Regions from separate parts of the Homo sapiens genome. Here region 1 is linked to region 2. Evidence: promoter capture Hi-C in 16 types of primary human blood cells and fetal thymus (Javierre and others, 2016). All regions are on one chromosome and are shown on one strand. The core of a region is centred on a gene start or on the middle of the fragment in contact, and the rest is flanking DNA. Distances in the headings are between cores, read along the strand shown. Region 1 has its middle 3.8 kb from the start of NMD3. Region 2 holds the start of PDCD10 (programmed cell death 10).

Region 1 (7,067 bases), core at 249-2,748, 6.5 Mb after region 2:
TAGTCTCTTTTCAGCTATCCCGACTGTGAGCTTGCTTCTTGATTAAATGATTATTTTATATAAAAGTTATCTGTAAACGGTACCTTATGCAAAGAAACTCCATCCAGGGCAGTGCCTTTTGTCTGTTTGGTTCACCGTCATATACAGGCCTGATGCCTGCCACATGCTAACTGCTCAAATGATTATTTGTTGAAAGAATGAAATGTAAAGCATAATTATCTGTGAAGAAGTCTATGCGATTTTTAGACAAATTATTAATTATGTGCTTCCGGATAGTGCATTTAATATCTTCTTATGACTGATTTATCCCTCAAACTTGGAGCAGCACAGACCGTGTCTAATCTGTCTCATGACAGCCTTTCAAATATTTGAAGAGTACAACCATTTTTTTTTCTAAATCCTCTCATCCCAAATTTCAAGGAATAAGCAAAGGCGTTTTGTAGAGGGTGATCAGAGACAGCCTCTCATCATTTCTTGCCCAGAATACTTAAGTAGCCTCTCGTCTGTTGTCTCTACTTGTAGACTTCAATTCATCCTTCTGAAATGCAGTTCTGATTTTGTCACACTCCCCTGCTTTTAATCCTTCAGTGGCCTCTGATTACCTTCAGCATTATTTCCAGTTTCTTTGTGTGGAAAGAAGACCTTTCAGGATCTGATCTCCACATATCCTGTCCTACTCCCAAGCACACGTACTCGCAAGCCATGAAGACCAACTGGCAGGTCCTCACAGAAAATAGTCTTCCTTTGCTTCTACCCGGGACTCGGCACTAAAGATTAAGCCTGAATTAGTTTCCTAGTGCTGCTCTAACAAATTATCACTGATTTAGTTGGCTTAGAAAACACAAATTTGTTCTCTTCCAGTTCTGGAAGCTACAGGTCTAAATAGATGGTGAGGGCTGACTCTGGAGGCTCCAGGAGAAAATCCATTCCCTGGCCCTTTCCAACTTCTACACGCTGCCCACATTCCTTGGCTTGTGGTCCCACATCATTTTGCAGTCAGAGTCTCCTTTTCTCACCCCCACCCCCCCGCACCCCTCTTACAAGGACACTTGTGATTTCACTGGGCCCAACCAAATAATCCAGAATAATCTCTCCATCTCAAGAAATTTAATCACATCTGTAAAGTTCGTTTGCCATGTTAGGTAATATATTCACAGATTTCAGGGAATAGGACATCTTTGCAGAGCCATTATCCTGTCCACCATACATCCTCTCTTTTCTGACTCCTTCGGTCCCTAAGGGCCAGAGGAGTTACATGCTCCTTCTGTATATATGGTTCTATGATAACACCTTTATACGAGGTATATGCCTCTATAATAGTGCTTTGAATTGGATCATAAATTTTCTACTCTGCATGCCCAGCAGTTTCAAAACCCTGGAGAGCAATTCGGGTCTTGTTCTTCTTGGTGCACCTAGCACAGCAGCTGACACAAAACAGACCCTCAATATATATTGGTAAATTAATTATCCATTTAATACCCACCACAACTCTGAAGAGACAGTGTTTTTCTCCCCGTTTTTTCTATTCACACTGCCTATGCCCTCAACCAAACACCACTAGGAACACAGCTGTAGTTAAGCAGCTTCTGTCTATTTATTACTCTTCGAAGTGAGCCCAGACACTCACCATGGATACCCTTTGGGTATCTCAGTAAGAGGGTGTTTAGAACAAACCTATCATAGGATTGGGGCTTTGGGCGGGTGTTTTCGGGGAGGCCCTAAGAAAATAGAGGTTTTTCTATAGATTGGATGCTGTCAGAAAGCAGGGGCAATTCTGTGATTGGATGTCTCAGTAAATCTTATTTACACAAAGGGAAGCAGGAGGATAAAGCTGCAATTAGCAAAGAAGTAGCAGTCACTCATTTTGGTGAAGAAAGGGAATGTTTGGTATTTTGTGGGTGGCATAGTGAACTTATTTTGGTCTGTGCTTAGACAAAATTATGAAGTGACCTTCTTTGCCTCATTTTATCATGGTTTCAGAGTAATCTTGTCTGAGTTTAGTATTCTGTGAAATTATTTCTGTCTAATAGGAAAATATTATGGCATAGCTGCAAGTACCAGACCAGCTTCTAAATGTCAAAGGCTGCTCATTTTTTAACACATTCCTTCTACAATTATTTGATTTGGCTCTGAATACCAGGCTTCTTAAGCACTTGATGTATGATAATAACAGCACAGATATGGTCCCTGCCCTCATGGACCTTACATATTACAGATGAGGCTGGATTAGATTAGGCAATTTGTTGAAAGTCCTATAGCAAATAATTGATAGAACTGGGACGTGAAATACAGTTTGTTTCTGAACCCAGACCCTCACCATAGCAGCCTACCTCCCCTTCTGAGGCTGAGGCCGTCTATTCCTATCCACAACCTTTTGATAAATGAAATACTTCTGTAGTAGAAGGCACCTATATTTCTCTCTTCATCTGCCAGCCCCCACCACTAAGATTTCCAGATGTCAAAAGTAAGTTCTTGATTTCAACTACCTCTCTCATGAGCCTGAATGAGCTTGCTAGGATTGGACTGAGTGGGATAATATTGGCAAACAATACCAGAGGGAAACTCACTTTGCACTTTTTATTTAACCTCAAATCTCACCTGAAAATAATAGGTGAGATTATTTTCAGCTCCCATAGTCCTTGCACTGAGGATATCTATCTGTATTCAAATCTAAGCCTTAGTATATGTTTACAAACTTCATTTCTATGTGTTTAACCATGGTATTAAAATGGAATTCCTGGCCGAACATAATGGCTCATGCCTGTAATCCCAACACTTTGGATGGCCAAGGTGGGAGGATCGACTGAGGCCAGGTTATCCTGGACAACATGTTGAGACCCCCACCTCTAAAAAATAAAAAATAAATATAAAACAATCAAATTAGCCAGGCATGGTGGTATGCACCTGTAGTCGTAGCTACTCAGGACACTGAGGCAGAAGGATCACTTGAGCTTAGGAGGTCAAGGCTACAGTGAGCCAAGATTGCACTACTGCACTCCAGCCTGGGTGAAAAAGGGAGACCCTGTCTCAAAAAAAAAAAAAAAAATCTGCTAATCAATGAAATAATGAAATTCTACACAGAACTTTCAAATGCATACTGTGATATTTTTCACACTATCAAATGTGATAGCACATTTGGGGATATCAAGATAATATTGGAGATTAGTGCAGGGGAGGTGTATTAGGGTATCCTCTTAGAATCAACACCTGTGGAATAGAAGGGCAGAAGCACCATTGGGCAGAAGGGAGCTGTGCTGCCGTGCAGTCTAGTGGAAGCCTCAGCTAACCCTGTGGGAAGCTCTGAAGCTGAAATGACCATTCTGAGTTTTCCCGAGGGGGACTTTGCTCATCGATGAGTCATTGGATGTGACTGTCCCAGGAAAAGGACATAGCATTGGGTGATATTTCTCTCTTCAGCCAAGGCAGTCCCAGAAGTAGATGAAACTGAGGGCTTTCTGCCAGCAGCACTCCCTGCTGTTGTGGGATAAGTACTTCATTCCTTGAGGGGGATCTGGGCAGTACCTCACAGCCACAGCATGCGCCATGTAGAAAGCAGTATGCCTAGGAGAGTCGGTGGAAGACATGGACTCTAAAGTCCTTGTTTCAAGTCTGAGATTTGTGACTGATAGATTCTGTGACCCTAAGGATTTGCTTTACCACTCTGAGCCTTTCTAAAAGCTCCTTTCCTCCTTTCTAAAACTATGTAATAATCCCTACCTCAGAAAATTGTTATGAGAATTGACTGAGATAAGGTACATAGAAGTGTTTAGTAAACTGCAAAATACTATAATGATTGTAGGCCCTGTTATTCTCTGGTGAAGATCCTTAATAGGAATTGAGTGAAGCAATAAGAAATGGTTTGTATCTGAAACAGCCAATGTATCAAATTTGAAACATTACACCTGCGATTCTGCTTCACCCTTAATTTACAATATAAAGACATCATTTAGTAAATGAAATAAAAATTTAGTGTTCACTTTGTAAAATTTGTTAGGGGTAGTGAATATCTGAGTTACTGGTGGCAAATAGATACAGGTCTGCAGCAACCTCAATTCTTGCCTTCTCGGCAGAAAGAATTTGACTGAGGGGCATAAGGCAGAAAAAGAGACTGAAGCAAGTTTCAGAGCAGGAGTAGAAGTTTATTTTAAAGCTTTAGAGCAGGAAAGAAAGGAAAGTACACTTGGAAGAGACCCAGGCAAGAACTGTGGAGGTCAAATGTGGTGTTTGACCTTTTGACTTGGGGTTTTATATGTTGGCATATTTCGGGTGTCTCCGCATTCCTTTTTTCATGATTCTTCCCTTAGAGTGGGCAGCCCACATGCATGATGCTGTCCTTGCGCTTGAGAGATGAGCAGGTGCAGTGTGTTTAAGAAGTTGTATGCATGGCCACCTGAGGCTTTTTTCCCTTTTCCGGTGGAATGCTCCCGGAAGGTCATATAACCAGTTAAAGTCTGCCATTTTACCTTTCAATGTACATACTCAAGCCCACTCGCCCAATTCCTGAGATTTTATTGGAAGTTGTTGATTACCAATTTCAAGTGTTTTTATCCATTGGGAAATTGCCTCTCCCTGGTGCCTGCAACCAATTATTATTTTTAGAAAGGTGATGTGACAACTGCCAGACCATCACCTGATGGTTGCCTGACATTCCTGGTGGGTAGGGGAAGCCCTCTCCTGTCCAGCTCTTGCCTAATTACCACTGTAACAGATTCATTCAGCTATACATTATAATCTGTGCCTATTTCTGCCTGTGTATTTCCTTCAACAAAAAGTTTTAAAAGTACAAATAATATGTTAACATAGAATCCCAGCAAATACAATAGAAAAGATGAAATAAAATTACGATAATAATACTTGTACAATTTCTCCATTATTACAAATTCCAAAATATGAGACTGAATTTATAATATTTTATTATAATTTTTAAAAGATGTAATCACTGAACAACCTCTAACTTTTACATGTTAGTGATGGGGGAGAATAACACTATGTATAGGTTGAGTATCCCTAATCCATAATCCAAAAATCCAAAATCCAATATGCTTCAAAATCTGAAATTTTTTGAACACTAACATGACACTCAAAGGAAATGCTCATTGAAGCATTTCAGATTTGGGGTTTTCAGATTTTGGATTCTCAATCAGTAAGTTTTAAACCAAAAAGTATCTGAGACAAGTCTCAATTTAGAAAGTTTATTTTGCCAAGGTTAAGGACGCACCTATGACACAGCCTCAGGAAGTCCTGACGACATGTTCACAAGGTGAACAGCTTGCTTTTATACATTTTAGAAAAACATAATACATCAATCAACACATGTGAGATTTACATTGGTTCCATTTGGTAAGGCAGGACAACTTGAAGAGAGGTCGTGGGGAGCAGGGTGGTGGCAGTGGCGGGGGGTTCCAGGTCATAGGTAGATTTAAACATATTCTGATTGGCAATTGGTTGAAAAAGTTTTTATCAATAGAAAGGAATATCTGGATTACAATAAGGTGTTGTGGAGACCTAGGTTTTACCAGGGAGATGAGGCGTCCAAGTAGCAGGCTTTAGAGAGAATAGATTGTACATGTTTCTTATCAGAGTTAAGGTCTGTGTTGACATTCATGCTGGAGGATTATAATGACACTTGTTATGCAAGTCTCAGAGTCCGAAGGTTGAGTCTGATGTCCAAGGGCAGGAGGAGAGGAAGTCAAGTGTCCAGCACCACACAGCGGGAGAGAGAGAGCCCAAGCAGACTCAGCAAGCGAGCTACTCATCCCTCTTCTTCTGTCTATGTTCCAGCCACTGGCAGCAGATTGCATGGTTCCTACCCACTCTGAAGGTTGTTCTTCCCCTCTCCCAGGCCACTGACTCAAATGTCAGTCTCTTCTGACAACACCCTCACAGACACACCCAGAAGCAATACTTCACCAGCCATCTACACATCCTTCCATCCAATCAAGTTCATACCTAATATCAACCATCACAGATGTCAATTCTCCTAAATTTGATGTCATTTTAATGCAATTCCTATCAAAATTCTAGCAAGAGTTTTTTGTAAATGTACAGAAGATTATTCTAAAATTTATATGGGAAAGTAATGGAACTAGAACACCTAAAACAATTTTAAAAAAAAGTGGGAAAAATTATTCAACTTAGTTTTAAGACTTATTATGGGACTACAGTAATCAAGATTGTTTGGAATTGGTGAAAGGATAGACACACATCAGTGGAAGAGAATAGGGAACCCAGAAAAAGACCCTCCAAACCAGTGTTCAATGGATTTTGACAAAACTGCCAAGCCAAGTCAGTAAAGATAGCCTTTTCAACTATAGCCAGTGGACATACAGAGGGAAAATAATAAACTTCAACCTAAGTCTCACATCTTAGATAAAAATTAACTCAAAATGGATCATGAATTTAAAGCAAAATGTAAAACTAGAAAACTTTTAGAAAAAAAAAAGAACATTTTTACAATCTAGAACTAGGCAAAGAGTGCTAAGCCCTGACTTCGGAAACAAGATCCACAAAAGAAAAACTGACAAGTTGGAGTTCATTAAAATTAAAAACTTTTGCTCTGTTAAAGGCCCTGTTAAGAAGATAAAAAGACAAGCCAAAGAGTAGCAGAAATATGTGCAAACTGTATTCAACAAAGAACTAGTATCTATTAATAAAATAGATATAAAGAACTCTCAAAATTTAACAGAAAATCAAGCAGCCCAATTAGAAAATTGGCAAAAGATATGACAACATTCCACTGAAGAATGTATATAGAAGTCAAGCATACATGAAGATGTTCAACAATATTAGTCATGAGAGGTATACAGATTAAAAACACAATAAAATATCACTGCCTCTATTGGAATGGCTAAAATAAAAAATACTGATAACACCAAATGGCAAGAATACAGAGAACTGGATCACTCATTCACTGCTGGCAAAAATGTAAAATGGTAGAGCAACTCTAGAAAAAATTTGGCAGTTTCTTATAAAATTAAACATGCAACTACCATATGACCTAGCAATTATACCCCTAGGTATTTATCCCAGTGAAATGAAAACTTGCACATAAAAAACTGTACATGAAG
Region 2 (7,038 bases), core at 2,652-5,151:
ATTCATTAGATTTTGAATATTTATGGGTTATAAAAGCATAAAAAAGGAAGGTTAATCATCCAAAATTTATTCCAGTAAAAATTGCCATTTTAACTGGAATCAGACTGGTATTCATTGGATTTTGAATATTCAATTTTACTTAGAAAAGTAATGTATCCCAGTATGAATACAGGCCTCTACAAATTAATGACTGGGGGAGAAAAGGTCATGGAATCATGGATTATAGGAATTTAACAAAAAATATAAAATCTTTTTTCTCTTTTGCTAAAGGTGTGTTTCTCAAGTAGTTTTCTTTATATCTATTCCCCTGTATCCTTCTTTACCAAAACCATTTGATCTTGAACCTTTAAGTCTTGCTCTTTTGTGCTGCATGCATCAGTGAATCTTCCTGTTAAAAAGAAATCCATGCTAACTTATTTTTACTCAAAAGGCTTAGAATCAGAACTCTAAAGAAAAGACCAAAGGATATGGTAATTTGAAATTAACCAAGGTTTTTGGCTAAAGAACAATCATCCCCAGAGCAATTTCCATTCAAGAGAGACATTCTGCACTCTGTTGCTTTTCCTTTCTCATCATACATATTCACTGATAGCCATACACAAATAGTAAAATTAAAGAGCAAAATAAGTAATATGCTTATAACATGGGTAGCATTTTACACAGAATTATAAACTGCCATATAACGAACGTTTTCAACACCAATCAAGAAAAATCTTCAGATTACCTGAGATTGAATGTGAATATTAACTAACATGAATCAAGAGTGCAAGGTAAAAAATAAATGCCATATATTTCCAATGATATTCTCTCATATAAAAACATGGTCTTTTTTCAAATGATATTGAAACCCAATCTCTTTTACTGACACAGTAAAAAGGATCCAAATCTTGGAAACAGGTGAAAAAAATCAGTACTTTAATACCACAAACTCATTCATTCCTAATCAGATTCTATCCTTTACCGTGTCTCAGAGCAGAAGACCTATAAAGAGCTGAGATTCAAAGTATATCTTAATTTCAACTGTTTAGATATTTATCTTCTATCCATTTGCTTGCTTATTAACTGTTTCCCAATAAAACTCTTTCAAACAGATCTTTTAATAAAGGCTCGGAAAGAATTTCATTGGTAGTATTATAATTATTACATAGGGGAAATAACCCAGCGACAGCAATTATTCAGTTTTACAAAATGAATTAGTAGTAGGGTCTGAGAAAGAATCTAAGACTGATTCAAGACAATCCACTTAATCACAAATAACAAGGGCAAACACAGTCTTTTCCATGTGTCACCCTAATACCCACTTTTTTTTTTACCCCCAAAATCATTTTCACAGGGCCATATCAGCTATGTGAATTAATAGATTCTCCAGTGCTGTAGCAAAGATAAAACCTGATCCTTATAGTGGTTAAGTTTAGCAGCTACTGTTGCTTTTTCTTTCTTCTAAGCTCTTTGCTGTTTTTGATACTTAGCTGATTTGCTTAGGGGTAATTAAAAAGCAGCTGTTTTTCTATGATCTATCTGTCTATATATTTCTATGGTATGTGAGAGTGTGGGAGGGAAGAGTATACACACTGAAAAGTCACTTAGGCTTATCGGTAGTAGCACTCAGTAGGACTGAACTTTAATCTGGGAAGAGAATTCATTTGAGCCATTTCTTTTCAAAAAGAAATTTGGGATGCATTACAAAAATAAAATTTAAAATCCCGAGAACTCAGGAAAGCATAGAAATAGGAGAAAACAAGACAATTACTCCATTTTATTGACCCTGGTTATTAAAAAAAAACATAAAGTATTGAGACAGACTCTGAAATATGCAACTGTCACAATGAAAGCATTTCAGAGCAAAATTTGCTGCAATATGCTACTATGATTAAAAGCCATGTAATCTGGGAACCTCTGTAACAAAATGAAAATGAACTAGGAAAATAGCTTCTTACTACTTCTCTAAAAATAAAAGGCTGTAATTTTGTCATAATTACACAAAGGTAGGTGAGACTTTCATCTTTACCCAGCATTACAACTTATTTCCATCCATAGGTATTACAATTAACGTTGCTTTGAATGCACATATAGTTTAATACCGAGAATAAACTATTATTTTATGACACTACATGTGTTTTAAACTGAACCCACTATCATAACACATATTAAGGGTAGTCCTTCAGCACATACTCTCTACCCAGAGAAAAGATTCCCACACAGCTTTCCATGTACTCGTTTTTAAAATGTACACATATTATCGGACACAAATGAGAAACTAACGAGCAGCAGTGAGGTACACCATATGTTTCCATTGTAGGCTGAATCCAGGTCTTTGTTCCAATATTCCAGAGCCACTGGGAAGAAAGCTAACTATCCATTCATTAAAATTCATTTTTACATTATTGCTGGCAAAAGTTATACTTTTGATAGATTAAGTCAGAGCCCATCCTATCCTGACTATTCCTGCCTGCACTTGCTTCTTTAATACGGATTTCTTGCAATTCTAGGAAACTGCAAAATAACCACCCTGGATAACAGGTCGGTAGCAGGACAATCTGATAAACCAACGTAAAGGGTAGACACTGAAGAAGAATGCAAAGTTATTTTCCTAGTGAAATAGTTCAGAAGTTATTCTATATCAATAGCAAAATTTTTGCTTTTTATAGGCTACGCACCTATAACATCCACCAGATAACATCCACCTCGTCCTCAATTAGCAGGATTTTTCTCAATCTTCAGATCTCCCAGAACAGTTTTACTGGTGCAACTCAAACCAAAAACACTAACCACGCCCTTTATACCCAGAGTCAAGCTTCCTTTTGCTTTTTTGCCCTTAAAGTCGAAAAATGTAAATCTTTCACCCGAGAGGTTTTGCACCGGTTTCCTAACCCAACGCGGACTCTTTTAGCTGTGTCTTGATGTAATTCCTATTGGAAGACGTTTTCTCCAGGGCAGTGCAGACGCCCCGAAGAAGGACCCACGCTTACCTCCCACACACCTGCAACCCCTGACGGGATGCTGGAGCTTGTGCTCGGCGGACTGTGCTCCGCTCCGCTCTCGTTCCTGCTTTCGTCTCTCCCGGGAAACTACAGTCCAGACTGCGCCTCTGGCTTCTACAGGGACCCAAGCTCCGCCTCTCCCTCCTCTAGTTGGCGAATTTGGCAGCTGTTGCTCCTCCCCCTGCTGTTTCTGCAGCTGCCCGGACCGGAGGCAGCGGAAAGCAGCTGCCCTGGTACCTTTCCGCTCCCTGCACTTCTGCAGCTGCTCTGCCACTTCCACTCCCGTGGGGGTCCCTCTCCCCTCCTCTGTGGCTCACACCTGGAGCGGCCTCCTGCCCCACCCAGGCGTCTCTGCTGGGAGCCCCGGCTCAGCCTATCCTTCCCCGACCTGTGTGTCCGGATGCCCGGTGTGCCTGGGGCTTAGCTGCTCTCAGGGAAGCTGCCCCTCTGCCCAGTGCAAGTCCCCACACCAAGCCCTCCCTTCACCTGGGCGATTTCCCCGAGGCTTCCTCTCCACCCACACGGCATACTCAGCCCGACAGCCCCAGGATCCCCACCACAGGCCCCTCACCCCCTTCCTTCCTCTGCTCTGTCAGCCCGCCCCCTCAATGGGTGAGGCGCCTGCGGGGCCTACTCCGCACCCTGATTGGCGCAGGTGAGGGCTTGCCCCGCCCTTCCTCTCCTTTCCGTGCACCATCTCTCTTCATCTCACCTCCTCCCGCAAAGGCAGGGAATTCTCCTACTATTGGCTAGAAGTGTCACCACCCATCGCCTCAGGATCCCCCGCATGGCCTGCCGGGAAGTGTAGTCTTCCGATTGCAGGAATTGCGGACAACGCCGGCGAGCGGGACTACGAGTCCCCATAAGCCTCTGCACGACTCCGGCTGGGCAGGATTCCGGACAACGCCTGGTTCCTCTTGGGTCCTTCCGGCGTCGCCGGAGTGAATTGATCCGGGAGTTGAAGAGGGCTGCAAGGTGGGAAGTGAAGTCAGTGCCTCAGTTGCTGGTAAGGTGTAGCTGTTCTGTCCCAGTCCCCGTAGCTCTGCACCGAGCAGAAGAGGTCTAGGGTCACGCAGGGGCCATGGCTGAGGCACTTGGGCTTGGTTCTGGCAGGCGGAGCGGACGGGGCTGAGAGCGGGGCCCTACGGGCGTAAGCGAGGTTACCCTACGCGAGTGGCGTAAAGCGGGTTTGTAAATGCCGCCTGCCGGCTTGGGCCCGAACGCCTCCAGGAAGTCTCCTCTAGGTGGGGGCGGGAGGGGAAGGGCGAGGTTGGCCCCTGGTGCCCCGGGAGAGGGGACAGGGCGGATGTGCCTGGGGTGGGGTCCTTTGAAGGTGTGGCTTCGGACCGAGAGGTGAGGCTGCTGTTTTCCCCCTGCTTTGTAAGTAAGAGAAAAGGGAGGAGGAAGGAAAGGGTGCTTGGGAGTCGGCTCTTGGGGGTGACTCGGGTTATGCCCTTTGAGGGAAGAGGAGCACTGGAAGAAGGAAGAGACAAATGTTGGGGTCTACGGATTCAGTTCCAGTTTAATGATGTGGCCCTCTAAGGAGATAATTTTGCCTTAAACAGAAAGACTTGACCCTCTTAGGTGTCATACCTAAGGTATGTTTTTACTCCTTTACTGCTTTCAGAGCGCTTTCATTTTGGGATGCTGATGAGGAAACCGAGGGATTATATGACGTGCCCAAGGTCACACACGTAGGGACAGACTTTCTGAATCTAGTTCGGTTCGAGTCCAGCTTTAGAGTAGGGACGTTGGTTGTGCTTTTTGAAAAGGGTGGAGGAAGTTACAAAGTAAATGTATTTTATATAGTATATCTAAGAAGCCATTGTGAGATAAAAAGTTGTTTCTTGAACCGGAGTGAAATTCCTCAATAAAGGAAAGATCCTTTTGGAAAAAATAAAAATGGCCAGTTTCAACTTTTACAGATTTTTCCCCTTTTTTTAGGGGTGTATTAAATGATAGACTCTACTCTCACAGTTCATTTTTACGGGTAGGTAATAGGATGGGAGAACAACAGTTAAACAATATATCCCATCCTTAGAAGAATATTCTTTTCTTTTTCTACCTTAGGACTGTTTTTACTCTCATTTTGTAAAACTGATAATAGTGGGATTGGAATTCTTTCACAAAACTACACTTTTTTCAAATAATGTAGCGTTAGGAGAGTTTAGTGTGCCCATTACTAGAAAAGAAGGTATTTTGCATTTCTTGGAGGTAACATCGTCTTTTTTGAGACTTTACTTTTCCCCCATTTTCTTGACTCTGGGCTGTATTTGTGTGTGTGTCTGCAAATAATAAAATTGGGCTCTTGCATATTTTTATTTTTCTTAGCATCAACTGTGACTTTCAATTCATTCTTACTTTACATTGAAGAATGAAAAAACAGTACACGTATAGTTCATATCTTGCAGAAAGTAGTGCCTTTATGCAAGTCTTATCCTCTATAATGATTATGACCAGTTATAGCTCATGACTATTATTATTGGATAAGTTTTTAATAGAATTGTTAGAGTATGTTCATTGATGGCAGAATTTATTTGTGATAACTTTATATCCATACAGGTTAGCATGTAATAAATCATGGCTTACTCTTAACATGTAATAAATCATAGCTTACTGTTTTATATATAAGTTGATCATCAGACTATGCTGAATTTTGAATGTACTCTGCAGTTACTATATTATCAACAATGTGCTTCACTTTTTAATGGAAAAACATTTTTTCGGAACAGAGGTATTATCTTCCCTGATGGTTGAAATTAAGATGGTCTGGAAATTAATACGATTTTTAAAATAGAAAAAGTATGATACTATAGAATGAAGTAAAATCAGGAATAATGTACCATAAGTAATGTAGTACACAGACAAGGAAGACCCAGTTAAACAAATGGAAAATTATGTGGTGATAACTGACTTTGTGCTGGATTAAGAAAGGTGCAGTGATGTAAGTAGACCGTAAACTGAACATGAGTCAGTGATGGTAAAGCAAGAATATTAATCTGTTTTCTAGATGACAATGTAGGTATTTGCCTTTTGTTGAAGGAGGTATGAAATAAGTTCTAACCTTTGGCATGTAACTCTGTCATTATGGAAAGAGCTTTTGAACTATGAGGAAATTTTGGAAATTAGTTAATGTAATGCATTTGTTCAGTGTGTTTTAGATTTTGTTCTTGGTTCATTTCTGCCACTACTCTTTATCTCTGAGGCCAATTATAGTTTTGATATTTCTTCTATTCGGATGGTGGATTAATGTTTGTATTGTTGTTATCATCTTTCAGTCACATGCTGCGGTACTGTTGTCACTTTAGATCTCTGCACGTTGGATAATTAGGAGTTCACAGAGTTATGTGTACACGTGGTTTGCAGCTCACCAGTGTCTGCATTTCTTCTCATTTTGAACTTTGCAGGAGCCTTATGTCAGCTTTTGGACATTATTTCTTAGAGGACTTGGGATGTCTTCCGTATATTATACATCTGTCTGTTTCTCTTAAGGATGTAAGGTCTGTAAGAATAGGGGCTGTTTATTATTGTAGTCTGAGTAGGTAAGATAATATTTACAAAGAGAATGAAGAGGCTCAAGTTGGTTAAGTGACTTGTAACTGGTGGGAGTAAGACAAAATCGAGATCTTCTGACTACAGATCTTTAATATTTTGGAGTAAAGACTTAGTTCCCTTAGATTATTTACATGAGAAGAAGACTTAACGTGACTTAAATATTCAAATACTATTACCTTCTTACTCTGTTTAACACTAAAAATTTATCTCTTCTCCTATCCAGCTCTCCGTCCTTATCTCCAGCCTTTCTCATTTACCATGCCTTTCAGTTACTACATACATAAGCTGCTTCCTGACTTGGTGGCCTTTACATATTCCGTCTCACTCCTTGGACTGTTCCCCTCACGCCTACCTAAATGTGGCCACCTGGTAGTCAGTTTTCACGTCTCAATTTAAATATCGTTCGTCAGGGGAGCCTTGCCCGCCTTCCCAAAATCAGAATAGGTTTCCGCCATGTATTCACCATACTCTGTACTCCTTTGTGGCATCATCATAATAGAAA

What was found. The method cuts DNA at HindIII sites, captures the fragments that hold promoters and counts their contacts. A CHiCAGO score of 5 or more calls a contact.
Region 1: a contact is called between a fragment that was not itself captured here and the fragment with the promoter of PDCD10 in region 2, in 1 of 17 cell types (non-activated CD4 T cells). The highest score is 5.3, in non-activated CD4 T cells.

What each region holds. Positions count from the first base shown.
Region 1 is chr3:161,214,004-161,221,070 of GRCh38, reverse strand. No RefSeq gene overlaps it. Among named protein-coding and RNA genes, the nearest start is that of NMD3, 3.8 kb to the left of the region's middle. RefSeq lists enhancers at 1-18, 78-187. The HindIII fragment of the contact is 5,309 bases long and covers 1-4,152 here.
Region 2 is chr3:167,731,755-167,738,792 of GRCh38, reverse strand. It overlaps PDCD10 (programmed cell death 10), which reads left to right and starts at 3,901. Exons shown (of 9, transcript NM_007217.4): 1 at 3,901-4,131; 2 at 4,443-4,579. It overlaps SERPINI1 (serpin family I member 1), which reads right to left and starts at 3,072. Exons shown (of 9, transcript NM_001122752.2): 1 at 2,970-3,072. RefSeq lists an enhancer at 3,650-4,089 and a silencer at 4,140-4,269. The HindIII fragment of the contact is 6,113 bases long and covers 2,797-7,038 here.